Linked DNA regions of Homo sapiens: region 1 is linked to region 2. The links are contacts of gene promoters, found by promoter capture Hi-C in blood cells and fetal thymus (Javierre and others, 2016). All regions are on one chromosome and are shown on one strand. Each heading gives the region's core, a stretch centred on a gene start or on the middle of the fragment in contact. The rest is flanking DNA. Distances are from core to core; before and after follow the strand shown.

Region 1 (2,879 bases), core at 183-2,682, 240 kb after region 2:
CCAGAACCCCAGGTAGAGGACCAGGGCCAGAAATAAATAAGACCCAGGCCCTCCACTCAAGGATCTGCAACTGTGGGAGACAGGCACTAAATCAGACACGCAGAGAGATGCATACAGTGCTCTGGGACTCCCATGGGAGTCTGAACCTGGTGTTAGTCCCCAGGGCTGGCCACCCTGCTGTGATTTAAATATCCTTCCTGATGTCAGTCTTTCCCCCAGTGAGGACCCTTTTCTACCCCAAATTCTGCTTATGAATTGCCTTTTTCTGAAAGTCCTCTTTGATGCCCAAGCACTCACCACAGACATTCCCCTCCCACTCAGCTGTCATGACCCAGGCATGGGGTCATCTGCAGCACTTTTAAAAGCAGCACCTTCTGGGCCACTTCCTGCAAACCGCAAACCCTGACAAGTAAGTGTTCAGGAAAGAAAAATAATAAAACCAATCTGAGAAATAAAATAAAAGGATTGCAAACGATTTCATGTCTCTGTGCCTCAGTTTCCCCATTTGTAACAGGAGATGATAAGATTTGTTGTTTTTCCAGGTCCCTGTCCACTCAGGCCTTTTGACACTGGTCCATAGGGAGTCAAGGCTGCAGGGGTCTTTGAGGTCATAGAGACTAACTTCCTCTCTGAACAGATGGAGAAACTGAGGCTAATGATGGAACAAAGGTTAGTGATAAAGCCAGTGTAGGTGCCCTGTTTACCTTTCACACCACGAGGTCCCTTCTGGACTCTGGACTTAACCTCACACTTTGCCCCTGACAGCTTGGGCCTCGTCTCCCCACCGCTGCCTCGAGCTCTCAGCTTCATCCATACCTGCAAGCTGCAGGGCTCCAGTTGGCATTACCTTGCTCCAGTCAGGCCGCCCAGGCTGGGTGCGCGTCTGCAGCCCCGTGATGGAGTCTTTCTTCTCCTTGTTGGCCAGGAGGTCAAGGGCCATCTGCAGGCCAATGGCCTTCATGTCATTCTTGCCCAGTGCAGATGTCATGTACATATGCAGCTCCAGGAAGCGGCCTGTTGGGCAGGGGACAAGGGCTGCACTGAGGGTCTAGTACCCATCATGGGCGCAGGGCAGGATGCCAACCACTACCTTACCCTGGGGCTTGGAAGGAGACCCATAGGTCTTTTGCCCAGGATCTGTTGTGTAACCAGTGCCATGGAGAGGAAAGGCAGCCCATTGCTTGAGCTGGGCCTACTATGTACATGGCACACATTGGTTACTTTATATGCACTAAGGTGAACCTCACAACCACTCCAAGAGTTAGATCTTTTATATTTATTTATTTAGTATTTTTGTGGAGATAGGATTTCACTATGTTGCTCAGGCTGGTCTTGAACTCAAGCAATCCACCCGCCTCAGCCTCCCAAAGTGCTGGGATTACAGGTGTGAGCCACCATGCCTGGCCAAGACTTTTTGTATTTATAGAAGAAGAAATGCATCCCAGGGAAGTGAGCATGGCAGTCCCTGGGCTCCAAAGCTCATGCCCTTCCATGCCTCACATGTCTGTCCTCAGCCTGGCTGGGGACACAAGCCACACACACATGAAAAGGTAATTTGGACTAAAGGGTCAAGGGTCGAGTGAATGGATCATAGCGTGAAGGCTACTGATATGCAGGGAAGGGCTGATGCAGACAGAGCTGCTTCCCAGAAGGGATGGGGACTGGGTTAGGTCTGGGACAAGGGGTGAGAGTAAAGGCAGAGGTGAAGGGAAGGCATGCTAAGAAGGACTAGTGTGAGTACAGAGTGAGAGGCTAGAACAAACGCGATGTTTGCGGGGCAAGGTGTGGTGCCCGGCTGGAGCCGCATCCTCGGATGGGAGCAAAAGGAAATGGGACTAGAAACAGATTGAGGCCAGAATGAGAAGGGTCTTGAATGCCCAGCTAGGAGACAGGGGAAGGTTGAGAGTAACTGAGTAGGGTGTGACATAATGAAACAGCACTTTAGGAAGGGCATCAGAGAGCTGAAGAGATGGGGAAGGAGACTGGGACGAAGGAGCCCACAAGGCCAGAGCACCCGCAGTTCTGCGCCACAAAGTTATAGGTCTGCTGGGATACTGATGTTTCAGCACTCAGGGGCTCCCAGGTGGGCACCTCCGTGTTCCATAACCAGACATGACATATGAATGTTATCATTTTTATGTATGCCATGGTGAGAAAAAGATTGGTGAGTGCTGCCTTAGGCTTGAGCGTCGGTTCAAGCCAGAGTTGGCAGGGCCTGATCTAGGATGTGGGAAGGAGCATTTCTGAGCTGACTGACGATCACCTCATCCTTCTCCTCTCCCTCTCTTCCTCTACACCCAGACTAAAGGAGCTTTGCCATTCCAACCTGCTCTCTATTGTTTCCTAAGTCACCATCAGCTCATTTTTCATTTGGCCTAAGGTCTCAGCTGCTGTTACAATGCAAATGGCCCTAGGAGGGCTAGCACATTTCATGTCACATGTCACTTAACCCCTAGTCGTGCTGGATGGTGTGGGAGGGAGGGAGATGTATTATGAGATGCCCACCTGGGGGACCCCCTGCTTCTTACCCTCCCTCAGAGTCACCATACCCCAGAGAGGGGTAAGAGGAGAGAAGGGGAGACACCATGGTGGGAGGGAGAAGATAAAGGGGCTGTGGAGGATGACCTGGCATGGTTCTCACTCTCTCCATCCAGCTGTGTTTGAGATAGCCATCTCATTTCTGGGACACTTTCCTAAGAAAATCATCCAAAGCAAGGAAAAAAACTATGTGCACAAATATATTAATTTTGGCATTTTTATGATTATGGAGAATGAGGAATAAACAAAATGTACAGTAGTAGGAGCTTGGTTAAATAATTTACGGTATAACCACTAACTATACCACTCATTATATAGCCATTAAATACTACTACTACTTT
Region 2 (2,865 bases), core at 1-2,500:
ACCTAGGGGGGTGGGGAGTGGGGTAAAAGAAACAAACCTCTGCTGAGTCAAGGGCACTGCAAGAATGCAGAAGCGACCATGCAGCTCTGGAAGGATGCGGTGGGAAACCCGCCACTCAGTGGTGGAGAAAAGCCCACCAGTTTCTCCAGCAAATGGCTGAGCTTTGTTGGGCCTCCTTGTCTTCTCATCTGCCCATGTGTTAATATCTACTCGCCATTGGTTTGTTAGGTTCAAATGAAATCAGGGATGTGTCCCTTTTTGGCTGCTAGCTCTTCTCAGATCCCCTGACCTCTCCCCATCTCTTCTCTATGGCTCTGCGTGGGAAGGGGCAGTTGTCACCCCCGACTCCCACTAAGCTGAGCCCTCCTCCCAACCTAAGCGGGAGGAAGCCGGTTCTGCTCACGGATAAGAGTTACCGGGCTCCTGAGTTCTTGTTCTGCTGGGCCGGGGTCCACCCCCTCTCCTGGGCTCATCCGACTAGGACTTGGGAAGTGCTAGGGGAGCCAGGAGATGCCCAGCTGGGGGCTGTGGCCGGGGGGAGGCCAATGACAGAGCAGGGGGAACTCCCTGTAGCTGGGCACCCACTTCAACAGGGCCGGGACGACCCCCGCAGGCAGTGGGCCGCCCCTCACCCACACGGTCCTGCTCAGCCCAGGCTCACATCTGGGCTCAGGAGGCGGGAAGCACAGGTGTAAAGAAATCGCCAACTGTGCAGCCCCAATCCAAGGGTTTTATTAAAGTGGGGGCGGCGGGAGGGGGGCGGTGGAGGAAGGATAAGCGGCGCAAACGCCCTGGAGAGTGAGAGAAAAGGTGCGAGAAGGCAACAGCTCCCCTCACCGCCCTCGATTGCAGCAGAGAGCCTTCTGCACGGCGGCGGCCGCCCCACCTTCACACCGGCCCCGCGTGCGGTGAAAGTGGCCGAGCCGCGCCGCCGCCGGATCAGGGCCGCCCCGGCACAAACTTTCCCAGACCCGCCCTCGGAGCGGCCACCCAGGCTCAACGGGCTCCACGGGCGCAGGGCGGCTGGGGCTGCCGCGGAGGGCGGGTGCGCGTGGACCGGGAGGTGGGGAGGCGGCGCGCGGCGGGGAGTCCCGCCCCGGGTTACCTGGGTTCCAAGGGTCTCGGGAGTCCAGTGGACAGGGCGCGGGGACAGCACAGGCAGGCCGGAGACCAGACACTCCTCCCGGGCTGCGGCGACCCCGGACTCGCGGGCCCTGCACCTGGCCCTGCGGGTCGCCGCGCCTACCCATGCCGGTCCCCGCCCGTCCCCTCCCGCGCGGGGCGGGGCGGCCCCGGGGGAGGAGCCGAGGGCCGTGGGCACCACCCCCTGAGCCAGGCCTGCGCCTCATCACGTGCCACCGACCCTGGGCTCTGTGACTTCCAAAGACTCGCCACCCCATTCCACAGCCTGAGGTGCCACCAAAGCCATAAGCCCAGGGGAGTCTCTCACACCCCATTCTCCTAGGGCCCATGTACCCCACGCCCACCTCCACCCCAGGAGCCGAAGGCCGGCAGGGAGCCTGGAGAGCCTCCTTGATGGGAGAACTGCGGAGCTTGCCCCTCGGAAAAGTGCATGGGGTGGAGAACAGGGAAGGAGAAAAAAACAACAACTGGGTACTCGCAGCCCCACCGCGGTGTCCGCTTCGCCGGTGGGAGAGGATCCTCGCCGCCCTGAATCCTTGAAGTGAGTTCCACCCCTGTCTCTTGGAGTGCTCAGGGTGGCGGGCCCTTTGCCAGCCCTCACCCTTTCCCCAGGGATCCTGTCCCAGGTCACAGGCTCCTAGACTGGAAGGCGCTGGGCCTGGACCTCTGCCACTCAGTGGACACAGCTATAAGAGATGAAGGGACACAGAGGACAAAGAAGAAACATTTGGCTTCAGGGAACCAGACTCTGTGTCTCCTCCCAGGTGCTGAAGGAACAGGTTGCAGCTACCTGGTGCCCCCACCCCGACCCTGCCAGAGAAAGGTTGGAACATCCACACCTGTGGACCGAAGTCCCCCACCAGGCTCTTTCCTCCCACCCTTCAGCCCCAGGCTCTCTGAGCTCCTGCTCCTCCCTGCCTTGCCTTGTTTGCTGAGGGCACACACAGTGGAGAGAGCACAGGACTGGGAGTCCAGAGACCTGGGCTCTAGTCTACTCTGTGACTCGGGTCAAGTCTCTGGCCCTTTGTGGGCCCAAGTTGCCCCATTTGCAGTGAATAGGTTGCAGTCAATTATCTCCGGCCATTTTTACGGATCCTGAACCGTGGTCTTGGGCACCTTGCTTTATTAGGCTTTTTGGTGGCTGTGCATCTTGTAAGGGTGTGTATGCATGTGCGTGTGTGTGTGCGTGCGACATGCGCTTGTCCTCTCAGACCCAAGTTCTTAAAGGGAAAGAGACTGGGGCCTACACAGAGGCAGGCATGTATATTCCACAGACCAGAGTTTGACAAGAATGACTGGACACAAGAGTGGAGCCCAGTCCCAGCTCTATGCTGAATTCAGAGTAGCCTTGGACAAGACCCTCACCATCTACAAAATGGAGATTAATAATCCCTGCTTTGCCTTTCCAAGGCTAGTCGGGGGACTCAGTGAGATATTAGATATGAAGCTCTTTGAAGGGGAATAGCACAGGGATGTGTGCTTTTGATGTCTGGGCCAGTGATGGGTTTGGGGGAAGAATAGGGTGTGAAGCATTCTCTGGGAGGCAAAGGCTGGCACTGGACTGATTGGCCACCCTGCCAAAGCTGCAGCATGCACAGCACAGGCAGGCACCCCACCACCAGCAGCCAAGGTGAGCAGAGATGCCTGGTGCCCCACCTGGATTCCTGCCTGCTGTAGGTATCTGTGTGTGCACCTTGAAGAAACTAAAGAGGGAAGATAAAG

The links. Contacts are between HindIII fragments. The CHiCAGO score rates a contact against its expected background, and 5 or more counts as called.
Region 1: a fragment that was not itself captured here is called in contact with the fragment with the promoter of PAQR5 in region 2 in 1 of 17 cell types (endothelial precursors); the score reaches 5.1 in endothelial precursors.

Annotation. Positions count from the first base shown.
Region 1 is chr15:69,053,469-69,056,347 of GRCh38, reverse strand. It overlaps SPESP1-NOX5 (SPESP1-NOX5 readthrough), which reads right to left. Exons shown (of 17, transcript NR_033672.2): 16 at 848-1,014. NOX5 (NADPH oxidase 5) reads right to left here. Exons shown (of 16, transcript NM_024505.4): 15 at 848-1,014. Among named protein-coding and RNA genes, the nearest start is that of EWSAT1, 26 kb to the left of the region's middle. The HindIII fragment of the contact is 4,332 bases long and covers 1-2,879 here.
Region 2 is chr15:69,297,297-69,300,161 of GRCh38, reverse strand. PAQR5 (progestin and adipoQ receptor family member 5) reads right to left here and starts at 1,250. Exons shown (of 9, transcript NM_017705.4): 1 at 1,106-1,250. PAQR5-DT (PAQR5 divergent transcript) reads left to right here and starts at 1,399. Exons shown (of 3, transcript NR_184010.1): 1 at 1,399-1,684. The HindIII fragment of the contact is 4,969 bases long and covers 1-2,865 here.